3 separate regions of the Homo sapiens genome follow, and regions 2 and 3 are each linked to region 1. The links are contacts of gene promoters, found by promoter capture Hi-C in blood cells and fetal thymus (Javierre and others, 2016). All regions are on one chromosome and are shown on one strand. The core of a region is centred on a gene start or on the middle of the fragment in contact, and the rest is flanking DNA. Distances in the headings are between cores, read along the strand shown. Region 1 holds the start of RPL6 (ribosomal protein L6). Region 2 overlaps TMEM116 (transmembrane protein 116). Region 3 has its middle 73 kb from the start of MAPKAPK5-AS1.

The links. Contacts are between HindIII fragments. The CHiCAGO score rates a contact against its expected background, and 5 or more counts as called.
Region 2: a fragment that was not itself captured here is called in contact with the fragment with the promoter of RPL6 in region 1 in 1 of 17 cell types (endothelial precursors); the score reaches 6.3 in endothelial precursors.
Region 3: a contact is called between a fragment that was not itself captured here and the fragment with the promoter of RPL6 in region 1, in 1 of 17 cell types (endothelial precursors). The highest score is 5.3, in endothelial precursors.

Annotation. Positions count from the first base shown.
Region 1 is chr12:112,408,350-112,413,056 of GRCh38, reverse strand. It overlaps RPL6 (ribosomal protein L6), which reads left to right and starts at 3,452. Exons shown (of 7, transcript NM_000970.6): 1 at 3,452-3,470; 2 at 4,401-4,637. The coding sequence starts at 4,401. RefSeq lists an enhancer at 3,642-3,821. The HindIII fragment of the contact is 30,731 bases long and covers 1-4,707 here.
Region 2 is chr12:111,929,938-111,934,615 of GRCh38, reverse strand. TMEM116 (transmembrane protein 116) reads left to right here. Exons shown (of 11, transcript NM_001193531.2): 9 at 586-730; 10 at 1,957-2,030; 11 at 2,789-3,318. The coding sequence ends at 2,995. Among named protein-coding and RNA genes, the nearest start is that of TMEM116, 81 kb to the left of the region's middle. The HindIII fragment of the contact is 2,415 bases long and covers 2,006-4,420 here.
Region 3 is chr12:111,913,518-111,917,948 of GRCh38, reverse strand. No RefSeq gene overlaps it. Among named protein-coding and RNA genes, the nearest start is that of MAPKAPK5-AS1, 73 kb to the right of the region's middle. The HindIII fragment of the contact is 2,198 bases long and covers 1,964-4,161 here.

The DNA.
Region 1 (4,707 bases), core at 2,203-4,702:
GTGTATGTCTTTCCACACTTTATACATATACAAACACACAAACTCATCCCATACACAGGCTCACACACATACATAACACATATAAAGATATTTTTCTATTTATTTATTTATTTATTTATTTATTTATTTATTTGAGACAGAGTCTCACTGTGTGGCCCAGGCTGGAGTGCAGTGGCACAATCTCGGCTCACTGCAACCTCTGCCTCCCGGGTTCAAGTGATTCTCGTGCCTCAGCCTCCCAAGTAGCTGGAATTACAGGCATGCACCACCATGCCTGGCTAATTTTTGTATTTTTAGCAGAGATGGGGTTTCACCATGTTGGCCAGGCTTTAAAAGATTTACTGCCTAACAAACAAACAAAAAATACAGCTGAGGCAACATTGTGAGACCCTGTCTCTACAAAAAATGTAAAAAAATTAGCCAGGTATGGTGGTGTGCACTGTACTCCCAGCTACTCAGGGGGCTGAGGTGGGAGGATTGCTTGAACCCAGGAGGTCAAGGCTGCAGTGAGCCATGATCTCACCTTGCATTCCAGCCTGGGCGACAGAGCGAGACTCTGTCTCCAAAAAAAAAAAAAAATTAGGCTGGGCGAGGTGGCTCACGCCTGTAATCCCAGCACTTTGGGAGGCCGAGGTGAGCAGATCACCTGAGGTCAGGAGTTCAAAACCAGCCTGGCCAACATGGTGAAATCCTGTCTCCAATAAAAACACAAAAAATTGGCCGGGCAAGGTGGCTCAGGCCTGTAATCCCAGCACTTTGGGAGGTCGAGGCGGGCAGATCACGAGGTCAGGAGATCGAGACCATCCTGGCTAACACAGTGAAACCCCACCTCTACTAAAAATACAAAAAATTAGTCAGGCATGGTGGCGGGCGCCTGTAGTCCCAGCTACTCGGGAGGCTGAGGCAGGAGAATGGCGTGAACCCGGGAGGCGAAGGTTGCAGTGAGCCGAGATCATGCCACCGCGCTCCAGCCTGGGCAAAAGAGCAAGACTCTGTTTCAAAAAAAAAAATTAGCCAGGTGTGGTAGCGGGCACCTGTAATCCCAGCTACTCAAGAGGCTGAGGCAGGAGAATGGCTTGAACCCAGGAGGCAGAGGTTGCAGTGAGCCAAGATCACGGCACTGCACTCCAGCCTGGGCGACAGAGCAAGACTCCATCTCAGAAAAAAAAAAAAAAGATTAAGTGTCTGCAAAAATGTCTGCTTTGTGATTAAAGTGCTGCACAAATTTCAGAGAATTTTATATATGGCAAAACTAAACTTAATAAAAACATTTACTTTATAACTAACATGGTATTTTGCCCAACTAATGAATTGTAAATTTTGCAATACCGCAACAAAACACAAGAGGGGGTTCATCTACGTTTTTATTTTAATGACAGGTCATTCAACACATATTTTGGGGCGTTCACTAGGTGAAATTATCTGAGATTGCCAGCAATTTTGAGGGGCCCACGTAAGCAACTGTGCATCTCATTCATTCATTGTGGTACATTTTCTGCAGTTGAAGTTTCTAAGAGGTGCTTTGCTGAGGAAGCTAAACAAATAAAGCTGCTGACATTCCCATTCTCAAAAAAAAGGGCAGTGTTCATCTGATCATTGTATTTGTATCCTCAGTGAATCAGAACCAGAAAAAGGCTAAATGATTCCCAGAGACACAGCCATGAAGCAGGTGGTTTCGATCTGAAAAAATCAAGGTGAAAAGCTCTAGCAACCAGAAAGAAACGAATGGAGGAAAATGGAAAACGCAAGCTAGAAGGTATTACAAATGTGTACATGTTGGCTTAAGGGCTTTGAAGCAGTAAAGAACTATCACATATACTGTGTTGTGTATTTTGTAAAAGATAATAAATATTCTTATTTTTAATTCTAACATGAGCAAAACTCTCATGCATCTTCATTAATCATCTCTTTAATCTTGCAGCCTAATGGTTAAGAGTGCAATCTTTGGAATCAGATCTATGCTGTGAGCAAGTTACTTAATGTCCTTGAGACTCAGTTTCCTCATAATAGTATCATTCACAGGTTGTTGGGAGAATTAAATGAAATAAAGCAAGGCACATTGTATGCAATATTGCCTATTATCTCCCATGCATAAACTTTAGCAGAATACTTGACAACAACTAGGATGTTGATGATCAGATGATTGTAGTGGTGATGGTGACAATAACAAGAGCTAACAGTTCGCCAGGTGCGGTGGCTCACGCCTGTAATCCTAGCACTTTGGGAGGCTGAGGCGGGTGGATTACTTGAGGTCAGGAGTTCAAAACCAGCTTGGCCATCATGGTGAAACTCTGTCTCTACTAAAAATACAAAAAATTAGCTGGGCATGGTGGTGTGCGCCTGTAATCCCTGCTACTTGGGAGGCTGAGGCAGGAGAATCACTTGAACCCAGGAGGCAGAGGTTGCCGTGAGCCAAGATCGTGCCACCACACTCCAGCCTGGGTGACAGAGCGAGACTCCATCTCAAAAAAAAAAAAAAAAAAAAAAAAAAAAAAAAAAAAAGAGCTAACACTTATGTAGCATTTACCATCCATCAAATAATCAAATATGCTTCTCAGTACTGTTGTATATATTATTTAATGTTCCCAACATCCTTATGAAGTAAGTTACTATTGTTATCCTCACTTTAATTTTTTTTTACTTTTTTTAAGACAGAGTCTCATTCTGTAGGCCAGGCCGGAGGACGGGAATGAGAAAGGCCATGTACAAGAGGAAGTAGTCAGCCGCTAAATCCAAGGTAAGGGAAGAGGGGACCACTGACCTAATCTCAAGTGACAAGATTAGAGTTCACTGCACTGCAGCCCAGACCTCCAAGACTCAAGTGATCCTCCCGCCTTAGCCTCCCGAATAGCTGGGACTACAGGCACTAACAACCACACTCGGCTAATTTTTTTTCTTTTTTTCTTTTTTTTGTTGTTGTTATTGTTTTGAGACTGAGTCTGGCTCTATTTCCCAGGCTGGAGTGCGGTGGCACGCAGTGGCACGATCTTTGGAGTGCTGGGATTACAGGCGTGAGCCACCGTGTCCGGCCCTTTTTTTTTTTTTTTTCTTTTTTGAGAATCTTGCTCTGTTGCCTAGAGCGCAGTGTCGCGATCTTGGCTCACTGCAATCTCCACCTCCAGATTCAAGTGATTCTCCTGCCTCCGCGCCTCGACTGGCTGTCATTACAGACACGCACCACCCACGCCCGGCTACCTTTTGTATTTTTAGTAGAGACGGGATTTCACCATGTTGGCCAGGCTGGTCTCGAACTGCCAACCTCAGAGGATCCTCCTGCCTCGGCCTCCCAAAGGGCTGGGATTACAGGCGTGAGCCACCGCACCCGGCCTAGGATTTACTACTTTTTTCTTAACGGGGAAATACTACATTCCCCATGATGCCCCAGATCCGGAAGGAAGTGAGACTCGCACTTCCCATGATTGCTTATAGACCGGAAGCCGGGACCTTAATTCTCTTTCCCATCTTGCAAGGTAAGAATCGCGGGCCTGTCTGCAAGACTTGAGTTCAGGACTCCCAATCCTTCGCCATCCGAACCTGGAGGGCATCCAGTCGACACCTACAGGGGTCGGACATGTCCAAGGCTAACTGAGAGGCCTTCCAGACGCTTCATTTTTGTTGTTTGGGTTTGCGGCAGGGCACAAAGAGGGTGAGGTAGAATGCCGTAGTGGCTCCCTCCGGTTCTTCGCCACTCTCTTGGGCTGGGGGAACGAGGCCCTTTCGGGGACCCGTAGCAGACTGGTGGGTGTTAGAGGAAGCGGGGAGACGGCGCGTGCACTGTGTTCCTGGTCCTGGGTTCCAGAGGATGACACTGAGCCTGTCGCAGCCACGTTGGGGTTCCGCACTGAAGCCAAAAGGTTTCGCGTCTCCCAGCGTCCCCGACCGGAAGTCGCCTCTTGGTCTTTGCGATCTTTTTCTCTGGCTCAATTTGGGCTGATTCCGTTTGTGTCCGCAATTCCTAAATCGAGTTTCTTGAAAAGAGACACTGGTCTTAAGGGTTAAGACGAAAGGTACTGAAAGTAAGGGATTTCAAGTTCTGGTCTTGGTGCTTCTAACCTGTGGACACATTCTGCATCTAAGTTTTCTAATTCGCAAAACAGTAATAAAAAATAATGGTTGTACGGACTTCTGACCGCTCAGTATTTGGCAAAAAACCTAATAGGTGTGAGGTAGTTTCAAATTCTCAAAAAAAAAGTTTATAGTGTATTGGGGAGACAAACCCCAAATGAGTCATAGTGAAGGTTGGAGTAGAATGGGTAGAGTTTGAGAGGAAGGCCTGTATCTTACCGGGGGAGGGATTGTAGTCTGGGGAGCCCAGCCCATTCATGTACAGGTTCATTATTGTCTTGTTAGAGAGATGACTGGTGAAATGCCTTTTTTTATCTACAAAAAAATATTTTTAGATGGCGGGTGAAAAAGTTGAGAAGCCAGATACTAAAGAGAAGAAACCCGAAGCCAAGAAGGTTGATGCTGGTGGCAAGGTGAAAAAGGGTAACCTCAAAGCTAAAAAGCCCAAGAAGGGGAAGCCCCATTGCAGCCGCAACCCTGTCCTTGTCAGAGGAATTGGCAGGTATTCCCGATCTGCCATGTATTCCAGAAAGGCCATGTACAAGAGGAAGTACTCAGCCGCTAAATCCAAGGTAAGGGAAGAGGACCACGGACCATTATGTCTTAACCTTAATTGGCATTCTCTTACTGTTGATGCATTTG
Region 2 (4,678 bases), core at 1,964-4,463, 480 kb after region 1:
TGGCTAATTTTTGTATTTTTAGTAGACACAGGTTTCACCATGCTGGTCAGGCTGTCTTGAACTCCTGACCTCGTGATCTGCCTGCCTCAGCCTCCCAAAGTGTTGGGATTATAGGCGTGAGCCACCGCACCGGGTGCAAAGTGACTTTCTAAAACTTCTGTTGCTTAGAGTTGAGAATTTAAGCTCAGCCATGGTGCTGAAGTGTTAAGCATAGAACACTTTCTAACAAAATCTCTAATAAAGTGTTTTAAGAGGAACTAGTTAGAGCTTACTTTTAACTTCCTGGGTAAACTGTGATTAGCCTCAGTGGGGGGAAATGCCCAGAGGTTGATGTAAGGTTCATGTGTTAAACGTGATACACAAGTTTGGCTAGTTACCTGTCCATTTCCCTAGCCTAGTAAAAGTTCACTCTGAAGGTAATTTTCTCTTAAAAAAAAGCCTGATCTCAGAAAGTAAAGACAAGAGAATGGGGTCGTTCCTGTTGTGAGATTCTAAGAGAATAATCTTTTTAAAATGATAGGAGGATAGACCTGGGGCATTTTACTAAGCTTTAAGCAAACTGCTCACTGCTGTACTCATATTTAGGTCTTACTTATCCGAGCCCAGACATTGTATAAGAAGTTTGTGAAGTCAACTGGCTTTCTGGGGAGTGAACAGTGGGCAGTGATTCACATTGTGGACCAACGGGTGCGCTTCTACCCAGTGGCCTTCTTTTGCTGCTGGGGCCCAGGTAGGTACTTAACAAGAAGAGATGGGCAGTGAAGAGGGCAGTTATTAGGTTCTGATCAAGCAAAGTGGTCTCACTAAGAAGGATGGCTGAGGTCGGGCACAGTGGCTCACACCTGTAATCCCAGCACTTTGGGAGGCTGAGGCAGGTGGATCACGAGGTCAGGAGATCGAGACCATCCTGGCTAACACAGTGAAACCCCGTCTCTACTAAAAATACAAAAAAAAAAAAAATTAGCCGGGCGTGGTGGTAGGCGCCTATAGTCCCAGCTACTTGGGAGGCTGAGGCAGGAGAATGGTGTGAACCTGGGAGGTGGAGCTTGCAGTGAGCCAAGATTGCACCACTGCACTCCAGCCTGGGTGACAGGGCGAGACTCCATCTCAAAAAAAAAAAAAAAAAGAAGGATGGCTGCAAATTCCTATTCAGTTTATAAAATTTGTATGGGCCCTACCCATATTTCCAGTTTTTACTACCCTCCTTAACTCCTTTTGCTTCTTATGTTTTAGAAATTGAGATAATTAGACATGAGATGCACCATGATATAAGAGGAGAAAACATTGTGACAGACTTGGAGATATTAACACCTGCCCTTCCTACTACATAAGGTTATAGTGAGGATCAGGTTAGATAATTTTTTTTTTTTTTTTTGAGACAGAGTCTCACTCTGTTGCCCAGGCTGGAGTGCAGTGGTGCAATCTCAGCTCACTACAACCTCTGCCTCCCAGGTTCAAGCAATTCTCCTGCCTCAGCCTCCCGAGTAGCTGGGATTACAGGCGCATGCCACCATGCCCAGCTAATTTTTGTATTTTTAATAGAGACAGGGTTTCGCCATGTTGGCCAGGCTGGTCTCAACCTCCTGACCTCAGGTGATCTGCCCACCTTGGCCTCCCAAAGTGCTGGGATTGTAGGCATGAGCCACTGCGCCCGCCCAGATTGGATAATTTTTATGAAAGAGCTTGGGAAAATCTGAATTGATAGGAAGTATAAATTATTACCTTCCTGTAGTATATCCTGCTACCATTACTACACTAATAATCTACAAAGTTTCATCAGTAAAGACTAGAAGTTGGAGGCCTAAGACTCATTGGTTTGCATAACAAGTTAACGTCACTGATGGATTTTATTATGCCTATTGTTTCCATTCTGATAATGCTCAGACGTGTGTGGAGGAACCTGATACTTCAGACAGTCAGGGCTGACAAGAAGGTTTACACTTTGTGTATTCACAGCTGTCATTCTAATGATCATAAAGCTGACTAAGCCACAGGACACCAAGCTTCACATGGCCCTTTATGTTCTCCAGGTAACACCTTCAACATTCAGTATCTCTGTTCTTACACCCGCTTATCCTATTTTCTTATACTACCTTTACTCGGTAAGGATGATTTTTTCCCTCCGGGTACTTCTACATTGCAAAAGAGAAAATGTATTATTTACACTCAGTTATGAAGAATGTGAAAATTTTCTCAAAGTCGAGGTAGATAATGTTGTAAAAGTACCTCCATGCATTCCAGAGCGTATATATCTCTGGTCAACTTCATTTTACTGATGTGTTTTTAAGGAATGGGCAGCAAAAATAAACAAGATCTGCCAGGTATGTTCTTATGAAACATTGATAGTGACATGGTTCTCTCCCATCCAGAGTAAACTGAATGGGATAAATGAGCTATTCTTGGTGAATGGTGAGGAGGGGATGGAATGATCATCTCTCTTTTTTTTCTTTATTGGATTTAAGAAGATTTTTGGGCTATCTGACTATTCCGATGAGACAGTTTTCTCAAGGGTACCCTGGAAAATGAGGCAATAAGGGGGGGCACTGAAGCTATTTCATTGTCCCTATGTATATACTAAGAAGTATGACCAACTCTCAGTCATCCGTAACAGTGTAGTGTAGACAGTGAGTTCAGGATGAACTAGAAAAATATAAAAAACTGATGTCAGATCTTCATGTTTGAGATAGAGAAAATATAACAATGCTTTATGAATAAGGGGAGTGAGAATTATTCCCTGGATCCCTGAAAACCTGAAGCATGGGCTGCATCACCCCTTCATCTCCTCCAGGCTCTAACGGCAACATCTCAGGGTCTACTCAACTGTGGAGTATATGGCTGGACGCAGCACAAATTCCACCAACTAAAGCAGGAGGCTCGGCGTGATGCAGATACCCAGACACCATTATTATGCTCACAGAAGAGATTCTATAGCAGGGGCTTAAATTCACTGGAATCCACCCTGACTTTTCCTGCCAGTACTTCTACCATTTTTTGAAACTACAATACTGGAACATCCAGGAACTGGAGTTATTCTACGCTAATGGATTGGAAAGAATGTTGGGAAAGGACATCTTAAATCTTTTCTAACTATGCCCTAAACTGCAGAACTCAAAGGAAATATAGTGCCATTGTTAGTAGTCATTCTAGATGAATTGGGAGTATCTCTCCAGTTATTCCCAGATTCACTAGTGATCCTTAAAGTCTCTATTCAGGGAGAGGAAGACACTTTCCATCTCAGAGATAGACTCGTGTTACCTTGATGGATATTGGATTTGTCTAAGTCTCTTCTAGAAAAAATAAATTCTAGATTATTATTTATATGTGTCATTTCAAAGCTGTCTACTCCATGGTTGCAGGGGAAGTGGGGGCAGGGGGCATGCAACAACTTGCTCAGGTCTTGCCATTGCTATTACTGTCTCTAAAGTTGAACACAGAAAATCCTGGGTTTCCATTCTATGAAGAGTTTTGGAAACTCATAGGAAACAAGGAGAACTACTATCAAAAAAGTGACAGTGGGACCTTTAGACACACCACATCTTAGTCTCATATGTTCAGTTCTGTTCTAGGACTTGAACAATAGGGATCACCCCACTCTAGAATACTAAGACTAATCTTTTGAAGTCACAGGGACAATAAGATTTAAGAGAAATAGAGACTAAAAAAAACCTCTAGTAATCAATAACTGTTAACTTGCATTTACAAGCAGAAGTACAAGGTTGGTTTCATTGTGTTCATTTATCAAAGTATAAAGTTAGATTGAACAGTATGAACAACTTGCCATTTTTATAGGTGAAAATGGTCTAATGTCATCAATTTCACATAGTTCAGCCTAATAGTAAGTGTTAAATATATGTTTATAGGATAAATGAGTGAACAAGCAAATTAGTGACTTATAAGTAAAATTTAAATCTTTTGGGAAAGAAAAGATTCTCGGACTGCAGAGCTTCATTCAGGGGTGGGAATATCTATCTAATCTGTTAATTCCTCTTGAATCATGTAACAGTGATATTTGGTCTCTCCAGCTAAGTTATGAACAAGGCCAATCTGAGGCCAGAGCATCATATACTATGATGCCAAAACAAAGGGAAAGCCAAATGGACAAGGTGACTGGAATGATAATTAATCAAAACATCTAGACCTAATAATCTGATGATCACAAAAGCAGCCTTATTCTCACTTGATACATTATCTTGGTATGTCCAAGGCAAAATCTTTAAGATTAGAGAAATTGATTGAGAGGATTATAACGGAAGATTAGACAGGATGTTCTGAAAAGTAAGTTACAGAGATTTTTCCAAAAGAGCTCTCTATAGAAATGTCAGGGAGCTCAATGATAGCTCTTTCGGTTTTAGACCATGAGCTTCATGGAAGTTATGGAGGGTAACCTGGCCTTATTCTGTCAAGATCATATATTGAAGCTTCTCATTGTCCCCAAAATCCTGAGACCTGATTTCATGATAGCACAGAACAAAAAAAGACTGCCTCACCTAGAAAGCTGCGTTAACTTCTTTTAATTTAAAAACTAATAAGCAGTCAGCATATAGAAAAATAGATGGAAGCAAGAAAGAGTTCCTATATCCATAGTCCCTGAGGGACACCAGAACCAAGAAGTCCAGTTCTTTTTTTTTTTTTTTTGAGACAGTCTTGCTCTGTCGCCCAGGGAAGAGTGTGTTGGCAT
Region 3 (4,431 bases), core at 1,813-4,312, 490 kb after region 1:
GTACTCCAGCCTGGGTGACAGAGCAATACTCCATCTCAAAAAAAAAAAAAATTTATTTGCCATTCCTCTTACCTTTTTCTACCATGAAAATATAATTAAAAGGTTGAGCACAAATATTCCAGGCAAAAACAAATAAGAAGAAAGCAGGGATTGCAATGTTCAAAACAAAGTAAAATTCAAGATTAAAATCATTAATTTTACAGGCAGTGGCTCACACCTCTAATCCCAGCACTTTGGGAGGCTGAGGTGGGCGGATCACGAGTTCAGGAGATCAAGACCATCCTGGCTAACATGGTGAAACCCCGCCTCTACTAAAAATACAAAAAATTAGCTGGGCGTGGTGGCAGGCACCTGGAGTCCCAGCTACTCAGGAGGCTGAGGCAGGAGAATGGCATGAACCCAGGAGGCAGACAGAGGTTGCAGCGAGCTGAGATCGCGCCATTGCACTCCAGCCTGGGCGACAGAGCGAGACTCCATCTCAAAAAATAATAAAATAAAATGAAATGAAATAAAATAAAATCATTAAAGGGGAAAAGAGGATATGTAGTTATTAAGAGGTACACCCAAAAAAGAAAATTTAAGTCATAAATTCTTGTTTTCTTCTTCTTCTTTTTTTTTTTTTTTTTTTTTTTTTTTTTTTTTGAAGTGGAGTCTTGCTCTGTCGCCCAGGCTGGAGTGCAGTGGTGCGATCTTGGCTCACTGCAACTTCTGCCTCCCTGGTTCAAGTGATTCTCCTTCAGCCTCCCGATCTTGGCTCACTGCAACCTCTGCCTCCCTGGTTCAAGTGATTCTCCTTCAGCCTCCCAAGTAGCTGGGACTACAGGCACGTGCCACCATGCCCAGCTAATTTTTTGTATTTTTAGTAGAGATGGGGTTTCACTGTGTTAGCCAGGATGTTCTCAATCTCCTGATCTCATGATCCGCCCGCCTCAGCCTCCCAAAGTGCTGGGATTACAGGCGTGAGCCACTGGGCCCAGCCTAAATTCTTGTTTTAAAACAATATGGCAATCAAGAATGAAATAATATATCACTACAGACCTAACAGATGCCAAAAGAATAATGAGGAACCACTACAAACAGCTTTACAGACGTACATTTGATACCTTAGATAAATGGACCAATTTCTCAAAAAGCACAAACTACTACATCTCACCCAATGTGAACTAGATAAGTTGAATATCTTTATAGCTATTAAGAAAATTGAATTTCGCCAGGCACGGTAGCTCATGCCTGTGATCCCAGCACTTTGGGAGGCTGAGGCGGGCGGATCACCTGAGGTTGGGAGTTTGAGACCAGCCTGACCAACATGGAGAAACCCTGTCTCTACTAAAAATACAAAATTAGCCAGGCATGGTGGCACGTGCCTGTAATCCCAGCTACTTGGGAGGCTGAGGCAGGAGAATCGCTTGAACCCAGGAGGTGGAGGTTGCGGTGAGCCGACATCATGCCATTGCACTCCAGCCTGGGAAAACTCCATCTCAAAAAAAAAAGAAAGAAAAAAGAAAATTGAATTTATAACTTCACATCTCCCAAGAAAAATAATCAGGCCCAGATGGTTTCACTGGAGAATTATAACAAACCTTTAAAAATAAATTAACACTAATTCTACACAATCTCTTCTAGAAAAATAAAAGAGAAGGAAAGGGAACCCTATCCGATTCATTTTATGAGGCCAGCATCACCCTGATACCAAAACCAGAGAAAGACAGTACAAAAAAAGAAAACTACAGACCAATATCCTTCATGAATATAGATGCAAAAAAAATTTAACCAAATATTAGCAAATAAAATTCAGCAATGTGAAAAAAAGAATTATACACCATGACCAAGTTTTGTTTTTTCCAGGGATGCAGGATTGGTTTATGTTTGAAAATCAAACATTGAATTCACCATGTTAGCAGGCTAAATAAGAAAAATCCCATGATCATATCAATTGGTGCAGAAAAAAGCATTTGGCTAAGCTTTACATCCATTCATGATAAAAACTCCCAGAAAACTAGGTAGAGAGTGAAAACTACCTCAATGTAATAAGAACATCTACAAAAAGCCTATAGTTAATGTTTTACTTAATGGTGAAAGACTGAATCTTCCCCCTTGCAGGATACAGTAGCAACATATAAAAATCAATTATATTTCTGTATACTAGCAATGAACAATTTAATCAAAATAAAAATACAATTTAAAATCACTCAAAAAATGAAATATTTAGATGTAAATTTAACAAAATATGTACAGGACCTATTAAATGAAAACCACAAGACACTGATGAAAGAAATCAAAGATGTAAATAAATAGAGATTTGCTATGTTTACAAATTGGAAGACACAACGTAATAAAGATACCAGTTCTCCTCAAACTGATACATAGACTTAACCCAATTCATATCACAATCCGAACAAGATTCTTTGTAGATACAGACAAGAAAATTTTAAAATTTATATTTTACAATATAAATTTTCTAAAAGACAAAGGAACAAGACTAGCTAAAACAATTTTGGAAAATAATAACTTGGAGAAATCACTCTTTTCTGTTTCAATAGTATGCGGTATTGCTGATGAGATACACACATAGATCAATGGAACACAGGAAACCCTTAAATAGAGTTTTTGCACTTTTTAAATTTAGCATAATCTTTTTTTTTTTTTTTGAGACGGAGTCTCGCTCTGTCACCCAGGCTGGAGTGCAGTGGCGCTATCTCAGCTCACTGCAAGCCCCGCCTCCCGAGTTCACACCATTCTCCTGCCTCAGCCTCAGGAGTAGCTGGGACTACAGGCGCCTGCCACCACACCCAGCTAATTTTTTGTATTTTTAGTAGAGACGGGGTTTCGTCATGTTAGCCAGGATGGTCTCGATCTCCTGACCTCATGGTCTGCCCACCTCAGCCTCCCAAAGTGCTGGGATTACAGGCATGAGCCACCGTGCCTGGCCAATTTAGCATGATATTCTTAAAGTTCATCCACATTGTAGCAGGTGTTAGTATTTCATTCCTTTTTTTTTTTTTTTTTAAGAGTTAGGGTTGGCCGGGCGTGGTGGCTCACGCCTGTAATTCTACCACTTTGGGAGGCCAAGGCAGGCAGATCACAAGGTCAGGAGATCGAGACCATCCTGGCTAACACGGTGAAACCCCATCTCTACTAAAAATACAAAAACAAAATTAGCCAGACGTGGTGGCGGGCACCTGTAGTCCCAGCTACCAGGGAGGCTGAGGCAGGAGAATGTTGTGAACCCGGGAGGCGGAGCTTGCAGTGAGCTGAGATCATACCACTGCACTCCAGCCTGGGTGACAGAGCAAGACTGTCTCAAAAAAAAAAAAAAAAATTGTTGGGGTTTCACTCTGTCGCCCAGGCTGGAGTGCAGTGGTGCAGTCATGGCTCACTGCAGCCTCAAACTCCTGGGCTCAAGAGATTCTCCTGGTCGGGCACAGTGGCTCATGCCTGTAATCCCAGCACTTTGGGAGGCCAAGGCAGGTGGATCACTTGACCTCAGGAGTTCCAGACCAGCCTGGCCAACATGGTGAAACCCCGTCTCTACTAAAAATACAAAAATTAGCTGGGCGTGGTGGTGCACATCTGTAATCCCAGCTATTTGGGAGGCTGAGGCAGGAGAATCCCTTGAACCTGGGAGGCAGAGGTTGCAATGAGCTGAGATCTTGTCATTGCACTCCATCCAGCCTAGGCGACAGAGCAAGACTCCATCTCAAAAAAAAAAAAAAAAAATGGAGATTCTCCTGCCTCAGCCTCCTGAGTAGCTGGGACCACAGGTGCATGCCACCACAAACTGTTAAGTTTAAATTTTTTTTTAGAGACAGAGTATCACTATGTTGCCCAGGCTGGTCTGGAACTCCTGGCTTCAAGCAGTTCTCCCACCTTGACCTATCAAAATGCTGGGATTACAGGCGTGAGCGATTGTGCCCAGCTCAGCTCATTCCTTTTTTATTGCTGAATAGTGGTCCATTATATGGATATACTACATTTTAGTTAATGATAGACATTTGGATTGTTTTCATTTAATGTATAAGTAACATGCTATAAATACTCATGTACAAGTTTTTGTATGGATATGTTTTTGTATTTCTTGGGTATATTATGCATATATGAGTGGAAGTGCTAGGTCATAGGATAACTCTGCATTTATTTAGCATTTTAAGAAACTACCAAGCTTTGATTCAAAGTGGCTGCACCATTTTACATTCACACCAGCAGTGCATGTGGGTTCTAATTTCTCTACATCCAGAATCTGTGTTTTTTATCTTTAACCATTTAGTTCCTAGCATATAAATATTTCTTAAAAGTAAATGTTTAAATTTAAAGAATGAAGTCAATAGGAAAATAAACAAATGAACTGAGGTCAGATTAGTTTGTTGGGTCTTTTTTTTTTTTTTTTTTTTTTTTTGAGACAGGGTCACACTCTGTAACCCAGGCTGGAGTGCA